Linked DNA regions of Homo sapiens: regions 2, 3, 4, 5, 6 and 7 are each linked to region 1. Evidence: promoter capture Hi-C in 16 types of primary human blood cells and fetal thymus (Javierre and others, 2016). All regions are on one chromosome and are shown on one strand. Each heading gives the region's core, a stretch centred on a gene start or on the middle of the fragment in contact. The rest is flanking DNA. Distances are from core to core; before and after follow the strand shown.

Region 1 (3,253 bases), core at 369-2,868:
AGAGGTCAATTCACTCAGGAGGGTGTCCATGCCTGGACACCCGCTCAGAGATACCACGTCTTTCGGGCCAGCTCTACCTGCTGTGTGGCACAACCAGCTGTCCGGCAGCTGTCCCCTGGGCCCTGCCACAGCCCGGCTGTCTGCCTCCAAAACACGCACTCCAGCCCAGGCTGCCTCTGGAGGGTAGAGGAGGGGGTCCAGGCAAAGGGGACAGTCTGATCTGCCTTCTGAAAAGTCAGTCCCCCACCGAACCTAATAGGAGCCTTGTGCTAAGCTAAGCCCTCCTGGACTCCTCGACCCGGAGTTTGCCCAGCTGTCCCCAGTTCCCTAGCCTGCCTCTCCCAGGAGGGGGCCAGGATACAGAGGGCTCCCTGGCGTCTGGCAATAGGGGTGCCTCTGGGCGGGTGCGGCTTTCCGGGAGCCCGCGGGACTCCCCCACTCCCCACTCCCGTCTGGGAGGTTCGGCGTGGGTTGGCGATGGGGGTGGAAGGCTCCCGGGTCTGTGGATCTGCGGCAGGAGGGGCGGCTGGTAGCAGGAGTCCCTGCATCACCCCCACCCCCAGGGGCGTTCCGGGGTGGGTGGGGGCATCTAGTGCCCCGCGAAAGGAAGAGGAGGAGGGGGCGAGCGTGGAGATGAGTTCAGGAGCGGAAAGCAGCGCGCGCCCCTCCGACCGGCAGCGGGGGTGGGCGCCTTCCCGGGGCGCGGGAGCGTCCCCAAAGCCGCGGGGCGTCCGCAGCGGGTAGGAGCTCTGCCTTGCACCTCTCCACGGCGGGGCGTCCCGCACGTCCCCCCATGCTGGTCCCCGGCCCCGGAACGGCGCGCGCCCCCTGCCCCGGAACGTCGCCCCTAGCCAGGCGGAGCGCTGGGAGCTGGGCCCAGGCGGCGGGAGGAGGGCGAACGGGTCCGGGGCTCGGGCCTCGATGGCCGCGCCGCCCCGGGGGAGCCGGAGCCGAGCTGGCCGCCGCCCGCGCGCACTCACCAAGCCCGCTGAGCTCCTCCTCGCACGAGTACCAGATGCCGGTGTGGAAATTCCTGAAGAGGAAGCGGTCGTCGCCGGTCTCCCAGCTGTAGAGCGCGCCGCCAGGGGGGCCGTTCCCCGAGGCGGTGGCGGCGGCGGCGGCGGCGGCGGGGGCGGCGGTGCCGTTGGCCGTGGCGTTGGCGCCCGAGTTGGGGCAGTTGGCGCGCCCGCCCTGGCCGCAGCCCGGCTTGGGGACCCGCTGCGTGCCCTGGCACCAGTGCGTGGTGAGGAAAGCGGTGGTGGCGAACAGCAGCGCCAGCAGGTTCAGGGCCACGGCCAGGAGCGCTCGGCCGCGGCGGCTAGTCTTCATGCCGCCCGCGCCGCCGGGACGGGACTGCACCGCCGGGGAGCTCCGCGCGCGAAGTTGGCAGCTGGCGCCCCGCGTCAGCGGCCGCTGCCCGCCGCGCCCCGGGGCTCGGGTGCCTGAGATCGGCGGCGGCGGACGCGGCGCGGGCCCATGCCCCCCCCAACCCCGGGGTGGGGGCGCGGCGCGGGGGGCGTGCGGGGCGGGCTGGCGGGGCGGGCGGCGGTGGAGGAGCGGCTACGGCGCGCCCGGAGCCCGGAGCGCGAGTGCACCTCGGCTAGGAGCCGCTGGCGCCTGGCAGCGGCCACGGCGCAGGGACGCGCGCCCCTCCGTGGGGAGACACCTGCAGGCGGCCGGCGACACTGTTCCGGAGCCCGCCCGCACGGGGAGAGGGGGCCGCCACGCCGGGCGCGGGCGGGGGCCTGGGAGTGGAGGGACGCCCCCGAAAGAAATCCGAGCCAGGGTGAGGGTCTGAGACGCAAGGAGAATCCCAGGCAAGGCGCTCCTGAGAAAAGATCCCCACGGCGGACGTGGGGCAACAAAACCCGCCGGGAGCGGGCATCTCATGAGACCCAGAGAGGCCCTGCCCCAGGAGACAAGGGCAGAGCCTGCTGGGGCTCCCCAAGAGGGACACGGACCAGCAGGACCCTGTCCCAGAAGGGGATCCCCAAAAGGACCCCCGCACCAGACCCTGAGAAAGGAGTTTTTCCAAAGGTTCTAAACAGCAGAGCCTGCAGGGCTTCCCACAGCCAGGGAGCTGCAAGACCCCCTGGATAAGACAACCCATGCTGGACTTGGAGTGGCAGAATCTGTCAGGAGGCGCCCCTCCTGGAGTATTGGGTTATAGGGTTTGAAACGTTTTTCTGTCTCCTGGGTGTCACCTCCAGCATCTGGGAAGAGCTCCCCTCCAAGGATGAAACTGTCATCTGGGCTCCCAACCATGGCATGCAACTGCAGGAAGAGTGGCAACAGGGTACCCCAGACAGCCCACTGCACCCACCTGAGATCCCAAACAGCAGAACCCTAGGAGGGCCCATGCCGGCCACAAAGTTATTGCAGCTACCAGGCAGTGGTGCCCTACAGGGGCTGCCAACCCTGCTCACATGCACACCATGTGAATGTGGGTAGAATCTTCAAGATTCGGGTGGGGGCAGGGTGGCCAAACATACTGACTTTGGGATCAAGCATATCTAGGGCTTGACCAGCTGTGTGGCTTTGAACAGGTCACTTACCCTCTCTGAGCCTCAATTTCCATAACTATAAAAAAGGGAGGACCCCCCCCCCTTCAAGGTATATCACAGTGGGCTGCTGTAATGAGATCATGGCTGCAAAAAGCATTTGGCACACAGTAGACTCAATTAATAATTCACTGTTACTGACATCTGAACCAAGATCAGTTGACCAAACTCAGACAAACCTCTTCAGGCTCTCCTGTGCAACGTGGAAACTGTGTGCAACCCCGTCCCCACCTCTGCTCTAAGATGACCACGCTCCCTGAACTCCCTTCGCGCTGCACAGCACTTACTGCCCAGATGCTCAGGGCGTGCAACAATTAATTGCATGTTGATTATAAGAGCTCATTTGAATTCTGCCCAAGCTGAGAACTGCTCCGACAACCCCCGGCTTGCCGAGTGGCAGGCCTTGCAGAATTCAAGGTTAACCGATTATGAATTGCCTTACTCCTGTGGGTGAGCCGGCACCCACTGTCAGCTGCTGCTAATCTGCCGGGGGGTAGGTGAGAGGAAAACGTTGTGGGCAACGTCCCTGGTAAGAGCAGGCACGAAGGATGGCCAAGGGTCTCCAAACTTGCTTTTAGAGCCCTTTTCTGGCACTGTGCAAGAGATTCTCAACTATTTTGAAAGAGAGGACCTCCATGTGATAATGGTGGCATTGAGAGTATTGGTTGACAGAGAAAATACATCATCGCCAA
Region 2 (3,253 bases), core at 196-2,695, 500 kb before region 1:
ACAAACATATTAATAAGAAAATGTCAGTAAGTGCCATGCAGAAGGTTAAGACGGAGGACTGAGGGCTGGGTCCCTCTGGAGAGGTGGGTGGTTTTAAGCTGAAATCTCATTGCTAAGAAGGATCCCTCATAAGACCAAGGGCATGAGTGCTCTTGGCCCAGAGGAGAGAGCTAAGGCCCTGAGGCAGGAAGGAGTCTTGGGTCTACGGAGCAGAAGAGGGATGTGGGACTAGGTGCAGTGGTGCACGCCTGTGGTCCCATCTGTGCAGGAGTCCACTTGGGTGTATCGCTTGAGCCTGGGAGGTCGAGGCTGCAGTGAGCTGTGATCACACCACTGCAGTCCAGCCTGGGCAATAGAGCAAGGTTCCTTCTCTAAATACAAAGAAGAAAGACTGCAGGGAAGAGGGCTGCAGGGAAGAGGGAGGAGAGGTCCAAAATATCCCGTGGGCCAGGCCATGCAGAGCCTGGTCAGAATGAGGCTTGGATTCTTTTCTGCATGCACAGGGAAACATTAGAAGTTCAGGCAGGCAAGTGGTAGGGTCTGGTTTTTATATGGCTGCCATAGGAAAATCCAGGCAAGAGTGGAGGCAGGGATACCTACTAGGTGGCTGTTGAAAAAGTTGGTCACATGCAGTGGCTCATGCCTCTAATCCCAGCACGTTGGGAAGCTGAGATGGGTAGAATTGCTTGAACCCAGGAGTTCGAGACCAGCTAGGCAACATAGTGAGACCTCATCTCTAGTAAATTAAAAAAAAAAAAAAAAAAAAAAAAAAGCTGGCCATGATGGCACATACCTGTGTCCTAGCTACTTAGGAGGCTGAGGCAGGAGGATCACTTGAGCCCAGTAGGTCGAGACTGCAGTGAGCCATGATCATGCCCACTGCACTCCAGCCTGGGCAACAGAGCAAGACCCTGTCTGGAAAAAAGAAAAAAGAAAAAGCCCAGGGGGAGTTGACGGGGCCTGGCTTGGAGAGCGGGATGATAGGAATGAGCAGGTTCCAGATCTATTTGGAAGCCCAAGTTCAGTTGAACTGGCTGAGATCCATGAATAGTCAGCAGTTTATGGGAACTAATAACTGCTAAGTACCTACTGTATGCAGGGCACTGTTCTGAGAGTTTTACATGTAGTGCCTTAACCCTGACAATAGACTTAAATGGAGTCAGGACTAATAGGACTCCCAAATGGGTAATGAGTAGCTAAGAGAGACGGGCTGACCCAGAGCCTCCCCTCTCAGCCGCCACACAGCATTGTCCCCAGGCTCTTACCTAATTATGAAGCTCCCAGAAGAACACATGGCTAAGCATTTCTAAACCAAGCAAATGCGCGTTAACGGTGTGCAGGTTATAAATAAGCATTTCTGTATGCCAGCTGCTGTTTGGGTTTGGAAAGGAAAAGAAGATCTTAGCATGACTTGTTTATCCCAGGTAATTTGGCAGTAAACTGGGCCCCAGAAGTCAAGTTACACAGAAAATGCAAAGGAAAAGTGACAGGGGTATCATATCAGGCTTTCCAAAAAGGAAGGTAACTTAAAGGCCCACATCAGCCTGGAGGCACACGTGGGGAATGAAGGGAAGGGGTGTTGCAGAGCCGGTGTCTGCCTGGCTTGCTTGCTTGCTTGCTTGCTTGCTTGCTTTTTTTTGACGGAGTTTCACTCTTCTTGCCCAAGTTGGAGTAATGGCGCAATCTCAGCTCACTGCAACCTCCGTCTACTGGGTTCAAGCGATTCTCCTGCCTCAGCCTCCATAGTAGCTGGGATTAAAGGCATGCGCCACCACACCCGGCTAATTTTTTGTATTTTTGGTAGAGACAGGGTTTCACCATGTTAGCCAAGCTGGTCTCAACTTCTGACCTCAGGTGTTCCGCCTGCCTCGGCCTCCCAAAGTGCTGGGATTATAGGTGTGAGCCACCACGCCCGGCCCTACCTGGCTTTCAAACAGTCCTGCTCTTTGTCTAATAGATTTCTGTTGTTTTAGTGGGATGTCCTTAAAGAAGTCCCCTCAAAACGGGTCCATGGCATCAAGATAAAGAAATAATAGGAGTCCAGGCGCGGTGGCTCACACCTGTAATCCCAGCATTTTGGGAGGCCGAGGCGGGTGGATCACCTGATGTCAGGAGTTTGAGACCAGCTTGGCCAACATAGTGAAACCCCGTCTCTGTTAAAAATGCAAAAATTAGCTGGGTATGATGTCGTACCCCTGTAATCCCAGCTACTTGGGAGGCTGAGGTGGGAGAATCACTTGAACCTCGGAGGCAGAGGTTGCAGTGAGGCGAGATTGCGCCACTGCACTCCAGCCTGGGCGACAGAGTGAGACTCTGTCTCAAAAAAAAAAAAAAAGGAAAGAAAAGAAATAATGGGAAAGTCAGGCATGCTGCTTCACGCCTGTAATACCAACACTTTGGAAGGCAAAGGTGGGAGATTGCTTTGAATCCAGGAGTTTGAGCCCAGCGTGGGCAACATAGTGAGACCCCTGTCTCTACAAAAGTAAGTTTTAGCCAAGTGTGGTGGCACATACCTATAGTGCCAGCTATTCTGGAGGCTGAGGTGGGAGAATGGCTTGAGCCCAGGAGTTTGAGACTGCAGTGAGCTATGATCACACCACTGCACTCTAGCCGGGACAGCAGAGTGAGATGTCTCATAAAAAAAACAACAAAAAAACAAAAAAAAAAAACAAAGGAAGAGTGGGAAAGTGGGAGATCTGTCTGCCTAGTTATGTACTGAGTTGGAAACTAGAGGCCTGATTTTTTTAGCCTGTACAGAGCCTTAAAATTTTTTAAATTATTAATCATTTAAAAATTAGAAGACTGGATTTATCACTTCTCTGGAAAATCTAATCCATCAAAACCAGGCCCACCTTTCTGTATGGAAACCAGCAGCTGTTTTTTTTTTTTTTTTTTAAGAGATGGAGTCTTGCTTTGTTGCCCAAGAGCTGCTCCCACCTTAACCTCCCAAAGTGATAGGATTACAGGCATGAGCCACTGTGCCCCTCCTGGGCAGCTGTTCTTAGGACACCTTGTCCCCATCCTGCCACCTTCCTCTGTTTACCTCACTCCAACACATGCGTATCTTTGCAAACACTATAGGTAGAAGCCAGAATCAAGGTTCAGGAAGCCGGCCAGGCGTGGTAGCTCACTCCTGTAATCCCAGCACTTTGGGAGGCCAAGGCAGGCAGATCACCTGAGGTCAGGAGTTCGAGACCAGCCTGGCCAACATGGCAAAACCCAGTCTCTACTAATTCAAAAATACACCGGGCGT
Region 3 (3,253 bases), core at 261-2,760, 480 kb before region 1:
ATACAAAAACTAGCTGTGTGTGTTGGTGGGTGCCTGTAATCCCAGCTACTCAGGAGGCTGAGGCAGGAGAATCGCATGAACCCATGAGGCGGAGGTTGCAGTGAGCCAAGATTGTGCCACCACACTCCAGCTTGGGCGACAAGAGCGAAATTCCATCTCAAAAAAAAAAAAATCATGTTGACATCTGTTGTCTTGTTGACTCTTCACAATGCCCTATAAGGCAAGGAATATTATCCTTATCTTACATGAGAGGAAGTCTAGGCTCAGAGCGGTGAGACAGCCTGCCCTGGGTAACACAGCAAGTACAGGGCTCAGCTGATAGCCTGTGTTATGTGCACCCTGGCAAAGTGGCAAGAACATGCCACTCCCCCTCCTCCCTGTAGGCCCTTGCTACTGGTTTACAGCCAGACAGGAGGACCCCAAACTCCTGTGACCACAGGGCTGGGCAGAGGCAATGACTGCCAGGTAAATGTGAGACTCAGTTTCCTCATCTGGCAAGGGGAGCTGGTCTGATACTTACCTCCCCAAACTCAATGCAATTAACTACAGCCAGATTCCAGTTAGAAGCCACTAGACACAAATCAAAACTACAATGAGATATCATCTCATCCCAGTTAAAATGGCTTTTATTCAAAAGACAGGCAAAAACAAATACTGGCGAGGATACAGAGAAAAGGGAATCCTTGTACATGTTTGTTGGGAATGTAAATTAGTATGATCACTATGGAGAACAGTTTGGAGATTCCTCAAAAAATAGCTACCATACGATCCAGCAATTCCGCTCCTAAATGTATACACAGAAGAAAGGAAGTGGGTATATCGAAGGGATTTTTCCACTCCCATGTTTCTTGCAGCACTGTTCATAATAGCCAAGACTTGGAAGCAACCTCAGTGTCCAACAGACACACGTATAAAGAGAATGTGGTACACACACACAATGGAGTCCTGTGCAGCCAGAAAAAAGAATGAGATCCTGTCATTTGCAACAACATGGGTGGAACTGGAGGTTATTATGTTTAGTAAAATAAGCCAGGCACAGAAAGACAAACTTCACATGTTCTCACTTATTTATGGGAGCTAAAAATTAAACTCATGGACATAGAGAATAGACGGATGGGTCCCAGAGGCTACGGAGGGTGGCAGGAGAAGTGAGGATGGTTAATGGGCACAAAAAAAGTAGAAAGAATGGCTGGGTGCAGTGGCTCACACCTGTAATCCCAGCACTTTGGGAGGCCGAGGCAGGCGGATCACTTGAGGTCAGGAGTTCCAGATCAGCCCAGGCAACATGGTGAAACCCTGTCTCTACTGAAAATACAAAATTAGGCGGGCGTGGTGGCACACACCTGTAGTCCCAGCTACTGGGGAGGCTGAAGCAGGAGAATCACTTAAACCAGGAAACAGAGGTTGCAGTGAGCCGAGATCATGCCAATGCACTCCAGCCTGGGCGATAAGAGGGAGACTCTGTCTCAAAAAAATAATAATAATAACTAAAAGAATATACTTGGGTTGTTTATAAACACAAAGGATAAATGCTTGAGGGGATGGATACCCCTTTTACCCTGATGTGCTTATTATGCATTGTATCCCTGTATAAAAACATCTCATGTAACTCATAAATATATACACCCATTATGTACCCACAAAAATTAAAAATAAAAATAAATTAAGAATTTCTTAAAAAGAAGCTACTGAAGGCCAGATGTGGTGGCTCATGCTTGCAATCCTAGCATTTTGGGAGGCTTAGGCAGGAGGATCACTTGAGCCCAGGAGTTTGAGGCCAGCCTGGCAACATAGTGAGACCCTGCCTCAAAAAAAAATTACAATTAAAAATAATTACCAATAAAAAAAAGAAGCAAGTGAACTGTGCCTTCCTCCCCACCACCACTATATAATTCAAAACAAAAACTGAAATAAGGTCAGATGCAGTGGCTCACAACTGTAATCCCAGCACTTTGGGAGGCCAAGGCAGGAGGATCACTTGAGCCCAGGAGTTCGAGACCAGCCTGGGCAACATGGCAAAACCCCGTATCTACTAAAAATACAAAAATGAGCCAGGCACAGTGTTGCATGCCTGTAGTCCCAGCTACTTGGGAGGCCGAGGTCGGAGGATCACCTGAGCCCGGGAGATTGAGTGTGCAATAAGCCAAGATCGCGCCACTGCACTCCAGCCTGGGTGACAAAGTGAGACCCTGTCTCAAAAAAAAAAAAACAAAAAAACAAAAAACAGAAACTGAAATAAGTATAAGGAAGTTCAATAAAATTCTGGACTTTTCCAACTTCTTCTTCTTTTTTTTTTTTTTTAATATAGAAACCTAAACTCTTTAAAAAATACATTGTTTGGGCCACTCGTGCTTTATTGAAGTCCTGGGAGATGGCTTGGCACTGAGGTGGAACGGTCCCGGGCAGGCAAGGCAGGAGGCTGGGGCAGACAGCCTGGGTTCACATCCTGGCTCTACTACTAGCTGTGTAGTTTTCAGCAATTACCTAACCTCTCTGCGCGTCAGTTTCCTCAGCTGCAGAATGGAGCTGAAAATAGAGTACCTCCTCCTGGAGTTGTTGAGAGAATTAAAAGACTAATACATGTGAAGCACTTAGAACCATATCTGTAAGGGCTGTTTAAGTGTTTGCTGTTTATTATTCATTGAGTCCCTCTGTCAGATCCTGTCCACACCGTGTTCCATCAGCTGGAGTAGCTGGGGTTGGGGTAGGGAGGCAGGGTTGGTGTAGTTTACACCTGCAGATAGCCAGGCCAGTGGGCCCTGCATTCGACATTTAATTTCTTTCTGATTCCACAACTAATGCATGCTGATTGTCAAGAAATTAGAAAATGCAGAAAGGTACAAAAATGGTTCGTTATCGTACCAACCTAGATAATCACTATTACAGATGCTCCTTAACATACAATGGGTTATGTCCCAATAAACCCATCCTAAGTTGAAAATACTGTACTTAACCTGCTGAACATCATAGCTCAACCTAGCCTACCTTAAATGTGCTCACGGCACTTAAATATTAGCCTACAGTTGGGCAAAATCATCTAACACAAGGCATGTTTCATCATGAAGTGTTGAATATCTCATGTAATTTATTGAGTACTGTACTCAAAGTGAAAAACAGAATGCTTGTTTAGGTACTTGAAGTACAGTTTCCACTGAATGTATATTGCTTTCATACCACAATAAAGTTGAAAAATCCTAAGATGATCCATTGGTATCATCTATTTATATTTCTTTCTAGCTTTTTTTTTTCTTTT
Region 4 (3,253 bases), core at 229-2,728, 440 kb before region 1:
GGAGCTTGTATTCATGGCTGAAGGCAAAGTGAAAGCAGGCACATCACATGTTGAGAGCAGGAGAGAGAGGGTGGGGGGGAGGTGCCACACACTTGTAAATGGCCAGATCTTGGGAGAACTCACTATCGCAAGGACAACATCAAGGGGATGCTGCTAAACCATTCATGAGAACTCTGCCCCCATGATTCAGTCACCTCCCACCAGGTCCTACCTCGACACTAGGGATTACAATCCAGCATGAGATTTAGAGGGGTCATACATCCTAACTATATACAAGCCAATCACTCCCTGTGTCTGGTGAGATGGCGCAGTCTACTGGCCGTTCCTTGGCCACCCCACTACATTGTGCAGTGGAGTCAGTTTCACCCGGTGGAGTCAGTTTCATGGAGTCAAAGAAGGAATGGTGCTGTACCCAGTGGAGATCTGAGGGGCTCTGTTTGGAAGATGGGGGAGATTCCTGGCCAGGCAGAGAGAGCAGGTGTCCACCACACAGCTCTTACCCTTGAAGAACTCCCCAGTAGTGGCAGGGTGAGCGCAAGGCCACCTATAACTATGACAAAAGAAGCAGAAAGTGATTGTGTGCTCCAGGAGAAGACTGGGGGCAGGGAGTAGGGGGACAGAGTCTGGAGATGTGACAGCCTTGCCTCACTCCTGCAGAAACCCTGCCAGCTGCCTGTCCCAGTGGACTCTGAGTGATTCTTGTCACTCAACCTCATGAAAGAGGTAATCATGCCCGACAAGATTCATAAAAGGGCAGGCGGAGTGATCAAAGGGCTGAGTGATGAAGATCGACTGAGAAGATGAGGGCCCTTGTATCTGAAGAGGTGACAGCAGAGAGGGGCTGTAATATACACCTCTAGACTGCAGGGGGTAGACCCAGATTTGCTCTCCAGGTCCAAGAATCCAGCAATGCTGTGATCATTTGGTCCTTGAGAAAGGTCATTCAAGGGAAACTTACAGGAAAACTTGCCCACAAAAGTGCTGGGCCTGCAGCCCCAGGAGAAGATCCAGGCAGAAAGAAGGAAGGAGAGAACCAGCATCACTGGGGGCCTCACCTGGACCTTTGTCTGAGCCAGCGCTTTAACCCAGTCTATCCTTTTGTCCTCATGGCAGCCCAGGGAGGTGCCGGCATCTTTAGTCTCCTGTTACAGAAGAGGAAACAGACCCCAGGGAGGTTTAGGAACTTGCTCAAGGTCATGCAAGCTGGGGAAATGGTGGAGTCTCTGGCAATGAGCTCCGTCCTCCACACTCACCTCCTCCACCTGCACAGATGCTCTTATGTGCAGCTCTGTGGAGCATCCTAGGTGACCTACAGGTTCTGGGGAGGAATGGCAGGCTTCTTTTTACACCCCTGCCCTCCCTGTCTTCACCCTTCAAGACTGGACTCAAATGCCACCCCCTCCAAGGAGCCCCCAGTTGCGAGCCAGTGCTCTCTCCTCTGACCTCTTCTTGCTCAGAGCCTCTGTGATGCCTGGTGCTAGAGGCAAGAAACAGCAGGAAGGAGCAGGGGAGAGCACAAGCACTGCAGCCCCACGGGCCAGAACTCAAATCCAGGTTGGAGGTTTCCTTGGCTCTCTGGCCTTGGGCAAGTTCATTTCTAAAACAGGCCAACAGAACCTCAGTCCCAGGATCACTGAAGGGTGAAGTGAGACAAGGCCCTTGAAGGCCCATAGCAAGCCCCCTACCCAACCCAGTATTCATCATCATTATCATCATCATCATTATCATCATTCAGTTATTGACTGATTGATTGATTGATTGATTGAGATGGGGGTCTCACTCTGTTGCCTAGGTTGGAGTGCATTGGTGTGATCATAGCTCACTGCACTCTCCAACCCCTGGACTCAAGCGATCCTCTTGCCTCAGATTCCCTAGTAGCTGGGCCTACATGTGCGGGCCACCACATCCAGCTAATTTTTTTAATGTTTATTATTATTATCATCCTTTCGATATAAATGCCTTCTCCCCAAATTGACATCCAGGTAATTCTTGAATGGCTGATCCTTGGGGAAACCCCTCAGGCGACCTGAGATGACCGAGATCTGGAGGAACCATGTGGTTCATCTATAGTGCCATGGCAGCCACACCACTCAGAGACCACTCAGTCATAAGCCTAGTCACAATTAAGCCGCTGCCCTCTGAGAACACAGTGACCTGCCCTTTGTGTTCAAAGGGCCCTTGTGTTCAAAGGGTCCTCATTGCCAGAGGCTCTGCCATTTCCCCAGCTTGCATGACCTTGAGCAAGTCCCTAAACCTCCCTGGGGTCTGTTTCCTCTTCTGTAACAGGAGACTAAAGATGCCGGCACCTCCCTGGGCTGCCATGAGGACAAAAGGATAGACTGGGTTAAAGCTCTGGCTCAGACAAAGGTCCAGGTGAGGCCCCCAGTGATGCTGGTTCTCTCCTTCCTTCTTTCTGCCTGGATCTTCTCCTGGGGCTGCAGGCCCAGCACTTTTGTGGGCAAGTTTTCCTGTAAGTTTCCCTTTGAAACTTTGTGTTCAAAGGGCCCTTGTGTTCACTGGGTCCTCCTTGCCATCTAGGTCCCTGCCCCGGTGGCCCACGAGGAGGAGACTCCTCCCCGAACCACCCCAGCCCCAGCCATGTCAGGTCCCTAGACTGCCTCATCACACCCTGTACTCCCCACTCACTCCTTCACTTCCTCATCTGTGCAGGTGATCCCAAAGGCCAACATGGGCATAAAATGGAAATGATGGGTGTGGTGTGCATCACGTGAATAGTAGCTGTGAGCACTAGGGTATTCATCCATGTCTCCTGCCCCAACTTGAGATCCTTGGGGTCACTTGTTCCAGAAACAGGCATTGAGGCCAGACGCAGTGGCTCATGCCTGTAATCCCAGGACTTTGGGAAGCCAAGGTGGGTGGATCCACTGAGCCTAGGAGTTTGAGACCAGCCTGGACAACACAGGGAGACCCTGTCTCTACAAAAAAAAAATACAAAAATTAGCCGGGTGTGGTGGCACGCACCTGTAGTCCCTGCTACTCGAGAGGCTGAGGTGGGAGGATTGCTTGAGCCCAGGAGATCAAGGCTGCAGTGAGCTGTGATCACACCACTACACTCCAGCCTGGGCACCAGAGCAAGACCCGGGAAAAAAAGAAAAGAAAGAAATAGCCATTGAGAGCTTTCCTCATTCAGCAGGCACCATGGCCCATAGGACAGAGGCTCAGAGTCCAGTGCGGGGGAAGAAGAATAAACAAATACACAGATACATCCATAATATAACATTAGCCAGTGATA
Region 5 (3,253 bases), core at 392-2,891, 400 kb before region 1:
AGGTATGACTTGAAAAAATATGCTAAAATGCAGGATAAGGATAGAAATACACTGAGGAATGGGAGGGAGTGTGGCCAAACTGAGGGCTCAGATTCGTGACTAGAAGGGCCAGCTTCAGCTCACAGATGTGTTCTGTTGGCCGGTTTGGTGGCACGCCATGGTTATCATTGTTGCTGTTTGACTTGGACTTAGAAAACTTTTCTTCTGAGCATGCACCCCCAGTTTGGCCTGGTCCCCACTACCTATTGTACAACACTGTGGTTTATTTGATAGTTTATATAACATTACGCCTCCTGAGGATGTCGGAGTTTGCGAGTCTTGTTTTAGGGAGGAGAAATACCAAGTGACAGATTCCGCAAGCCTGGGAAGGTAGCTTGGGTTTTTCCATAAACATTCTGGGGCCTTGGCTAAGTCATACTCCTCTGGGGCCCCCATTTCCTCCTTTAACAAGAAGCGGTGAATTAAATATCTCCTGCACCTGCCAGCTCTGAAATCGTAAATCCTAGGTATGGTTTATAAGAAAATCTTATTCCCATATTACAAAATCCGTGGATTGGCCGGCAGTGGCTCACGCCTGTTATCCCAGCATTTTGGGAGGCCAAGGTGGGCGGATCACCTGAGGTCAGGAGTTTGAGACCAGCCTGGCCAACATGGTGAAACCCCGTCTCTATTAAAAATACAAAAATTAACCAGGCATGGTGGCGCATGCCTGTAATCCCAGCTACTCAGGAGGCTGAGACAGGAGAATCACTTGAACCCGGGAGGTGGAGGTTGCAGTGAGCCGAGATGGCACCACTGCACTCCAGCCTGGGCAACAGAGCAAGACTCCATCTCAAACAGAACAAAACAACAACAACAACAAATCCATCGATGGGAGTAGACGATACATAATAGTTTGTGGAGCTCTGGCTCATATCAGTACTTTTTTTTTTTTTTTTAAGAGATGGGGTCTCACTACATTGCCCAGGCTATAATGCAGTGGCTATTCACAGGTGCAATTATAGTGCACTACAGCCTCAAACACCTGGCCCCAAGCCATCCCCCTCAAGTAGCTCAGGATACAGGCACACACCACCGCATCCAGCTATTGCTCTAGGTCTTTTGCAAGTTCAGTATTTAGGGCCTCAAACACCTTCCCCCATCCCAGATCTAAGCTTCATGATAGCAGAATGTGCTCCGTCTCATTGCCTGCTGTGTCTCTTGTCCCTAGAAAAGTGCCTGGCATAGAGTTGGTCTGCAAATAAATCTTCATTGAGCAAGTGGATTGAATGATTGAATCAATGAGTGAGTGGTATAGCTGTTGATTAGGCACCCTGACCAGCCCACACAAGGGACTTCAGTCATCACATCACTGAGTTATGATTACAGTGAGTGTTTTCCAAACTGTGAATCAGGACACATAATCTAACAAGGAATTTTTGTGTTGCTTGGGGTAGAAGAGTCAGTTTGAGATATGTAGTTTGGATCCTGAAATATTGGGATTTCTGGCACATGTTCTTAATGTGAGAGAATATTTTAAATCACCTGAGTGAGGCAGGTGGGTCAGTCAGGGCATGCAGGGAATGGTGGGGATAGTAGCAGACAATCACAGTGGACTGTCATCGTGTAGAAATATGGGCCTAGTGGTGCCAGGCTTTTTAGGTTTAAGAGAAGCCAGGTATCTGGGTTTCTGGGTTTCTTTCTTTTCTTTTTTTTGAAACAGAGTCTCACTCTGTCGCCCAGGCTGGAGTGCAATGGCATGGTCTCGGCTCACTGCAACCTCCGCCTCCCGGGTTAATGCGATTCTCCTGCCTCAGCCTCCCAAGTAGCTGGGACTACAGGCGTACACCACCATGCCCAGCTAATTTTTGTATTTTTAGTAGAGACGGGGGTTTCACCATGTTGGCCAGGCTGGTCTCGAACTCCTGACCTCAGGTGATCCACCCACCTAGGCCTCCCAAAGTGCTGGGATTACAGGCGTGAGCCACTGCGCCCGGCCTGGGTTTCTTTATGTTTGATTTCCCCCAATTATTTCTATGTTGGCAACTAATTTATAGTTTGTTTGTTTTTCAGACAGGGTATTGCCCTGTCACCTAGGCTGGAGTGCAGTGGCGTAATCATAGCTCACTGCAGCCTCAACCTCCTGAGCTCAAGCTTTCCTACTACCTCAGCCTCCCAGGTAGCTGGGATTACAGGCACAAGCCACTGTGCCTGGCTAATATATATATATATATATATATATATATATATATATATATATATACACATACATATATATATATATATATATATACACATACATATATATATATATATATATATACACATACATATATATATATATATATACACATACATATATATATATATATATATATACACACATATATATATACACATACATATATATATATATATATAGTATAAATGGGGTTTCACTGTGTTGCCCTGGCTGGTCTTGAACTCCTGAGCTCAAGCAGTCCGCCTGCGTAGGCCTCCCAAAGCATTGGGATTACAGGCATGAGCCACCATGCCCAGCCTAATTCACAATTTCCTGTGGACCAAACAAAATATACCTGCTGGCCAGATGTGGCCTTTAGACTACCAACTTGCAACTTCTGGTTTAGATAATGAAAGCTTTGTCAGTTCCTGATGAGACAGGAGGAAGAGCTCTTTCTCCTTGACAGTGGCTCTTGACCTAGCCCGTCTGTTACCCAGAAACATCAAAGGCCCCCAGGGATGACCAACTGGACAGCTCAGACCAAAAGACGGCTGGCTTGTGGCATTAGAAAGGGCCCTGGGCAGGTGGGTCAGACAGCACAGGGCAAGCTGAGCAGGAATAATTTGGTGATGAGCATGAATGATGTGAAATGATGCTGAACAAGCACTAAATGCCCATGAATTACAGGTCCAGAAGTAAGAGATGTAGTGATCCCATCCCTCAGTAGGGTGTTTCTACAAATGAAGGTGCCAGATGAATTGAACTTAATAAAGCATATTTTTCAATCTTAATGAAAATAAAGATTAACTTCTGAATCAATATTAGAATAACTTTAATATCTTGCATTTATAGCCGACCTAGAATTTCTTAGGTATGATGTGAAACAATTTTTACATTATTTTGTATCATTTTATCTAACACCTAATACATGGGTGCCTTCTCATTTAAAAAGATTCAAACAGTTTAGAAGTAAGTTGAGTATAATATGAAAAGCTGTCTATATCTACCCAGCCAAACCATCTCCAGCTTTTACTTTTATTGAGCAAGTATACG
Region 6 (3,253 bases), core at 358-2,857, 390 kb before region 1:
GCAGGAGAAAAACAGACCAAATCTTCAGCACTTTGCTTGGAAATCTCCTGAGTTAAATATCCAAGTTCATGTCTTACATATTCTGCTTTCCACAGCACTGTAGGACACAATTCAGCTAAGATTCTACTGCTACATAACAGGATTCCCTGGGCTCCAGTTTTCAATTACATGTTCATTTCCTGAGTCCTCACCAGTGGTGCCTGTAACATCTATATTTCTATCATCGGTCTGTATAGGATGATTTCTCTAAGATGGTAAAAGTGTTCTATACACTCAAGGTGTTCCTCACTTCCTCCTGAGCCCTCAGGAGTTCACAGGTTCTAGGGATTAGGATGTGGACATCTTTGGGGAGCCCTTATTCAGCCTACTGCAATAACTATTAGGTTTATTGGTCAATTATCAAAGCTTTATTGATTGCTTCCCATTTTCTTAGAACTACATTGGATACTATATAGGCTACAAGGGGTAGTATAGCTAGGCTGACCAAACATACTGGTTTGCCCAAACAGTCCCATCTATATATATGTGTGCATGTGTGTGTGTGTGTGTGTGTATCTCCAGGCTAGAGTACAGTGGCAATCATAGCTCACTGCAGCCTCAACTTCCCAGGCTCAGGTGATCCTCCCACCTCAACCTCCCGAGTAGCTGGGACTACAGGCATGCATCACCATACTCAGCTAATTTTTGTTTATTTTTTGTAGAGACAGGGTCTCACTGTGTTGCCCAGGCTGGTCTTGAACTCCTGTTCTCAACCAGTCCTTTTGCCTCGGCCTCCCAAAGTGATGGGATTACAAACATGAGCCACTGTCCCAGCTCCGTTTATACTTTTTGTCCCAGTGTAAATATAGTAGTGCTCGCTTTCTCTCTGAAATGTCTTGGTTTGGGTGATTCATGTCCTGGTCACTCTAAATATAGATCTTAATGCTTAGCCATAAGGAATCTACAATTTCATGTAGACAAAAGAAACATGAAAAAAATCTTGAAGCAGTTGTAGTTAAGTGCTAAATAGTATGACATTTAGATGCCGCTCAACACCCTGCAATATGCAGGTCAGCCCCTAACAACTACCTGACAGACATTTTACCATCTGGAAGTTTAGGGTCATTTGGAGGCCTTTGGGAGTTCATATTTCAAAGTGTGGTCCCTGGACCAGCAGTGTCAGGATCACCTTATTAGAAATGTAAATCCTCAGGCCCCATCCCAGACCCACTGAATCAGTGGGTGGGACTCCACAATCTGTTTGAACAAGCCCCAGATTTTAACAAACCATATTGTCTGTTTCTCTCTCCCTCTCCTTCACATGTGCACTCCCCCCCACCCCACCTTCCCCCGGCATCTCCGGGATACAAACACCACAGTTAATATTAACAACATTGCTCTGTCCAGGGAGTTACTCATTTTCCCCTGCCCTTTGTTTTCTCGTCTTCAAAGCAGTGACATCACAAGGGTTGAGATAATATTGTTAAATGTTAGTTTGGGGAGAATAATTCTTTGGTTCAAATGATCTATTTTCAAATAAGTTTTTCTCAAGGTACCATATTTATCTCTCATCTCTCTTCTGGGCTTTTTGCAGGAGCTGAGAAGAAGCCTGGAACTTAGTGTAAATCTACAAAGGAAACAAAAGGATTGTTCCAGCGATGAGTATGACTCTATTGAGGAAGACATACTCTCTGAGCCTGAGCCAGAGGACCCGGCACTGGTGGGCCATCCCAGACATGACCGCCCTCCTTCCAGTGGCGACTGGACTCAGAAAGATGTTCACGGGGAACAGGAGACAGAAGGACGCTCTTCTCCAGGCCCAGACACCCTCGTGGTGCTGGAATTTAACCCAGCTTCCAAAAGTGAGCTCTGTCTTGTATATCATTTCTTTGCCATTGGTGTCTCTGCATCTAATAGCAGGACTTAAACTTCCAGTGGTCCTTTGAGTTCCTCTTTGGGTAGAGTGTCTCACAGGCCAGGGAGGTATATCAGTCAGGTCTCTGTTGATTGCAAGACGCAGAGCTTCCCAAAGGCTTCCTCAGGGCCCTGAAATTCCAGATGGTAAATTCCTGGCAGATAGTTGGAGGTGTCTGTTCTGTACACTGTAAGATGTTTTGCAGCATCTACATACCAGTTGGCTAATACAGACTAGCTTAAGCTAAGGGACTATTTATTGACTTGAGTAACTGAAAGGTTCTGAGATGTAGCAAGACTCATTTTCTCCCCTCTCCCTCTTCGTCTTCTTTTCCCTCTCCGTCTCCATCTCTCTCCCATCTCCCCTCTTCCCTCTCCTTTTCCCTTCTGGCCTCTTCCCTCTGTCTTCTCCCATCTCCCTCTCCCTCTTGCTCTCCTCCTTCTCTGCTTTCCTGTGTCTTGCTTCCATTCTTAGTAGACTATCCAACATACAAAGGCAGAATTGCCTTTAAATAAGACACTGACTTTGCAACCCCTCAGAAAGTGAATTTTTCTTTCCCAAAAGGCCCAGCAAAAGTCCCAGACCTGGTTCTCCAACCCACACGGGGTCACATGCTGTCTTGGATTGGATCACCGTGGCTCTGATGGGCCAGGTCCAGCCAATAGGACTAAGGGGTGTGGTTATCACCACCCAGCCACACGATAGTGCGGTAAAGCTCTCATCTCCAAAAGAAACTCAAGGTGAACCTGAAGGAGGGAGGATGCTGGCACGCAGAGACAGCAGTGTCCAATGGAGGAAGTTTGTCAAGAAAGATCTTGGAAAGTAGAACGAGCAAAACGATTGGTGAGGGGCAGGGAGGAGAGAGAAGGACTTGATGGGGAGAGGCCTACTTGCAACAGTCTTCATCCTCTGTTCCTAAGCTTTGACTCGGGCTGGCCTGGCCTCTGCCTGCACCTCTGTATCCTATTCATGTGCACCGTCAAAGCTGGGTGTGCCAAGAGAAGACAAACTTTTCTGAACCATGATGAACCTAAGGAAAGAGAAATGAGGGAATGTTTGGAATCAGACAGTGTGTCAGTTTGCGAGGGTTGTCATGACAAAGTACCACAGACTGGGTGGCTTAAACAGCAGGAATTTACTCTCTCATAGTTCTGGAGACTGGAAGCCTGAGATCAAGAGTCAGTTTCTTCTGAGGCCTTTTCCTTCTTTGTGGCTTGTAGACAGCCATCTTCTCCCTGTGTCTTCCTGTGGTCTTCCCTCTGTGTGTGTCTGTGTCCTAATCTCCTCTTCTTAGGAGAAGTTATATTGGATTAGGGCCCACCTATATGACCTTGTTTTTAGTTAATTACCTCTTTAAAG
Region 7 (3,253 bases), core at 200-2,699, 350 kb before region 1:
TTTAAGGACAAACAGAGAATGAGGGCAGACGAGATCAAAGATGCCATCTACGTGACCATGGAGATCCTGTCCAACTGGGGCAACTCGTGGTGGGTGGGTCTCACAGAAGTCGAGTTCTTTGACTTGAATGACACAAAGCTTTATGTGTCGCCCCACGATGTGGATATCCGGAACACAGCCACGCCTGGGGAGCTGGGCCGCCTCGTCAACAGGAACTTAGCTGTGAGTGGAAGGGGCACTGGATTGCTTCTTGGCTGTGTATTCCCATGCATTTTCTCTGCCCTTGGTAAATCTGTGTTAAGGGTATGAGTGGAGGGAGGGGAAGAACAACAAAATCTGGCCAGGTACAGAGGCTCACACCTGTAATCCCAGCACTTTGGGAGGCTGAGGCAGGCGGATCATTTGAGGTCAGGAGTTCAAGACCAGCCTGGGCAACAAGGCAAAACCCTGTCTCTACAAAAAACACAAAAAATTAGCCAGGCATCATGGCTTGTGCCTGTAGTCCCAGCTACTTGGAAAGCTGAGGTGGGAGGATCTCCTGAGCCTAAGGAGATTGAGGCTGCAGTGAGCTGTGACTGTACCACTGTACTCCAGTCGGAGCAACAGAGTAAGACCCTGTCTCTAAAAAAAAAAAAAAAATAGGCCGGGTATGGTGGCTCACACCTGTAATCCCAGCACTTTGAGAGGCCGAGGCGAGTGGATCACTTGAAGTCAGGAGTTCAATACCAGCCTGGCCAACATGGTGAAACCCCATCTCTACTAATAATACAAAAATTAGCCAGGCGTGGTGGCACATGCCTGTAATCCCAGCTACTTCTGGAGGCTGAGGCAGGAGAATCACTTGAACCCAGGAGGCAGAGGTTACAGTAAGCCGAGATTGCAGTAAGCCAAGATTGTGCCACTGCATTCCAGCCTGGGTGACAGAATGAGACTCTGTCTCAAAAAAAATAAATAAGATAAAATCTACCAGGGTTATTCATTTGGGCAAAGTTGGGGAGGAACCTGAGGGAGTGGTGCTGGCAGAGGCCCCAGACACTCTCTCCCTAAGCTGTTTCCCAGCCCCTGCTCTGTGGGTTTTTCTTGGGGGAGCCAATTCACCTGCTTTTATCCACCTTGCAGTTTTCCACAGTCACCATCAAACACTGGACCTCAGGGGTCATTAAGGTTAATGGATGTTCTTTGTAGTTGAAGAAACTACAGCTTGGAGAAGGGCATTGACTTGGCCAAGGTCATGCAGCTGGAAGGTAGTGGAGCCAAGTTCATATCGGGCAGCCTGGGCCAGGACCCTTGCCCACACCCCCTCAGGACCCTGCTGCCCTAGGTCGTGAGGTGCACACTCCACAAACGTTGAATGTTTCTTTCCTTTAAATATCCAACAGAGCCAGGTACAGTGGCTGACACCTGTAATCCCAGCGCTTTGGGAGGCCGAGGTGGGCGGATCACCTGAGGCCTGGAGTTCAAGACCAGCCTGGCCAACATGGCGAAATCCTGTCTCTACCAAAAATACAAAAATTAGCCAGGCGTTGGGGCACACACCTGTAGTCCCACCTACTTGAGGCTGAGCCAGGAGAGTCGCTTGAACCTGGGAGGGGAGGTTGCAGTGAGCCAAGATCGTGCCACTACACTCCAGCCTGAACGATGGAGCAGGACTCCGTCTCAACAAATAAACAAACAAACAACAGAATTTACAAAAAAAAGATCGGGGAGGGTACTGGCATTTTTTCCTTCCTGCTACTTGCAAGTTGCACACAAGAGACTGTGAGCTAAACTGAGCCAGAGTAGCAGCCACGTCATCTTTGCTATGTTGGGCCTCAGCTTCATTCACAATTATCTCCTCGGAGACCTGGGAAGATGTTGTTATTGCGTGATCATAGCTCACTGCAGCCTCAAACTCCTGGGCTCAAGCTGTCCTCCTGCCTCAGCCTCCTAAATAGTTGGGACTACAGGCACACAACACCACATCTGGCTAATTTTGTAAAATTTTTTATAGAGACGGGGTCTCACTATGTTACCTGGGATGGTTTCTCTGGCCTCAAGTGATCCTCCCACCTTGGCCTCCCAAAGTGCTGGAATTACGGGCATAAGCCAGCATGCCCAGCCTTTGCTGTTATTGTTATTATTATTAATAGTATTAATACCACTGGGAAAAGTAGTTAGTGTTATTCCCATTTTAAAGAAGAGGAAACAAGAAAAGGGGTTTTTGAAATCTCTGGTTCTAGAGACCCAGATTCTGGTCTTGACTCTGGCCTCAGCAACTTGCCTGCCTTCTCTGAGAGTGGGTTTTTCTGCAAGCTGAAAAATGGGAGATTGGGTCAATCATCTGTTCAGATTCTTAGATTTCCAGCAGCAGAAACTGAGTCCAGCTCAGTTAGCACATGTTTAAAAAGTAAATGTGTTTCAAGTCTTTTGAGTAGCTAGTGTACTCACTGCCACGCAGGCCAGGAGAGGATGGGCCTTGGGGGAAAGTTGGGGTTTTAGGGAGCATCCTGGAATGCTGGCCACCACGGGTGTGGTCTTTTGGGGGTGGGAGATGAACAGGAGGATGTGAGATTCTTCTGGAAAGATTCTTTTCTCAGACTTGAGGTTCTGGGGGAGATCGTGCTGTCCTACTTAGTTGACTGTTTTGGCCTTTGTGTGAGTGGTCACTTCCATGGCATCCGAAACCATCACTAACTTACGTCTTAAACTGGGTCATGACTCAAGGTTGGGGGCTACTTTCAGAGAAGGGAACAAAATGAGAAGGGGAGATGGAGAAAAGGATAAAGCTTCATTCCCTTAGTTCATACAGCAACCATTTATTGAGATGCCTCGGCAGTGTCGGTTAGCTGGTTGGTTTGTCCTCGCAACTCTCTGCTGGAAATAGTCTCAGGAGAGGAATGCTGATGGACCAGACTGAATAGGGCAGGACATCTTGATGCCAGTTCCACCAAGATGCCCCAGCAGGGCAGGAAAAGATTCTCCCTGAAGGTATTCAAGATTGCTTAGAAAAGGTGTAATATATGTCACAAGTAAAAACAAAAATTAAGAAATTCAAGATTGCCACTCAAACGGCGGGCTGGATGCTAGATAGCTAAGAAGCAACAACTGTCCCCAGGGTTGGACTGGGTGGGTCTGAGTCCCCTTCTAGATCAGTAGCTCTGTGATCTCAGCCCTCAAAAGACACAGTCCCTGAGCTGTGGATGATGGCTGCCTGGGTGCTGTGGCCTGGCCTATCCCTGCTTTGCCTCCAGATTCAAGTCTATAGGCTCCCATG

What was found. The method cuts DNA at HindIII sites, captures the fragments that hold promoters and counts their contacts. A CHiCAGO score of 5 or more calls a contact.
Region 2: a contact is called between a fragment that was not itself captured here and the fragment with the promoter of GSG1L in region 1, in 3 of 17 cell types (M1 macrophages, M0 macrophages and megakaryocytes). The highest score is 8.8, in M1 macrophages.
Region 3: a contact is called between a fragment that was not itself captured here and the fragment with the promoter of GSG1L in region 1, in 6 of 17 cell types (M1 macrophages, megakaryocytes, M2 macrophages and 3 more). The highest score is 13.2, in M1 macrophages.
Region 4: a contact is called between a fragment that was not itself captured here and the fragment with the promoter of GSG1L in region 1, in 6 of 17 cell types (M0 macrophages, M1 macrophages, megakaryocytes and 3 more). The highest score is 17.8, in M0 macrophages.
Region 5: a fragment that was not itself captured here is called in contact with the fragment with the promoter of GSG1L in region 1 in 6 of 17 cell types (M0 macrophages, endothelial precursors, megakaryocytes and 3 more); the score reaches 9.2 in M0 macrophages.
Region 6: a contact is called between a fragment that was not itself captured here and the fragment with the promoter of GSG1L in region 1, in 7 of 17 cell types (megakaryocytes, M1 macrophages, M0 macrophages and 4 more). The highest score is 15.7, in megakaryocytes.
Region 7: a fragment that was not itself captured here is called in contact with the fragment with the promoter of GSG1L in region 1 in 5 of 17 cell types (M1 macrophages, megakaryocytes, erythroblasts and 2 more); the score reaches 9.0 in M1 macrophages.

Annotation. Positions count from the first base shown.
Region 1 is chr16:28,062,096-28,065,348 of GRCh38, forward strand. It overlaps GSG1L (GSG1 like), which reads right to left and starts at 1,619. Exons shown (of 7, transcript NM_001109763.2): 1 at 981-1,619. The coding sequence starts at 1,329. The HindIII fragment of the contact is 8,058 bases long and covers 1-3,253 here.
Region 2 is chr16:27,563,146-27,566,398 of GRCh38, forward strand. The region is part of intron 1 of KATNIP (katanin interacting protein); the gene reads left to right. Among named protein-coding and RNA genes, the nearest start is that of KATNIP, 15 kb to the left of the region's middle. The HindIII fragment of the contact is 7,230 bases long and covers 1-3,253 here.
Region 3 is chr16:27,584,633-27,587,885 of GRCh38, forward strand. All of the region lies in intron 2 of KATNIP (katanin interacting protein), which reads left to right. Among named protein-coding and RNA genes, the nearest start is that of KATNIP, 36 kb to the left of the region's middle. The HindIII fragment of the contact is 4,356 bases long and covers 1-3,253 here.
Region 4 is chr16:27,621,713-27,624,965 of GRCh38, forward strand. All of the region lies in intron 3 of KATNIP (katanin interacting protein), which reads left to right. Among named protein-coding and RNA genes, the nearest start is that of KATNIP, 73 kb to the left of the region's middle. The HindIII fragment of the contact is 8,406 bases long and covers 1-3,253 here.
Region 5 is chr16:27,659,715-27,662,967 of GRCh38, forward strand. All of the region lies in intron 6 of KATNIP (katanin interacting protein), which reads left to right. LOC107984874 (a long non-coding RNA gene) reads right to left here. Exons shown (of 3, transcript XR_001752113.3): 3 at 3,016-3,253. Among named protein-coding and RNA genes, the nearest start is that of KATNIP, 110 kb to the left of the region's middle. The HindIII fragment of the contact is 979 bases long and covers 1,153-2,131 here.
Region 6 is chr16:27,676,156-27,679,408 of GRCh38, forward strand. It overlaps KATNIP (katanin interacting protein), which reads left to right. Exons shown (of 28, transcript NM_015202.5): 7 at 1,574-1,841. LOC107984874 (a long non-coding RNA gene) reads right to left here and starts at 3,060. Exons shown (of 3, transcript XR_001752113.3): 1 at 2,785-3,060. The HindIII fragment of the contact is 2,409 bases long and covers 404-2,812 here.
Region 7 is chr16:27,708,699-27,711,951 of GRCh38, forward strand. KATNIP (katanin interacting protein) reads left to right here. Exons shown (of 28, transcript NM_015202.5): 13 at 7-222. It overlaps LOC100128079 (a long non-coding RNA gene), which reads right to left. Exons shown (of 3, transcript NR_147898.1): 3 at 1-220. Among named protein-coding and RNA genes, the nearest start is that of KATNIP, 160 kb to the left of the region's middle. The HindIII fragment of the contact is 2,627 bases long and covers 137-2,763 here.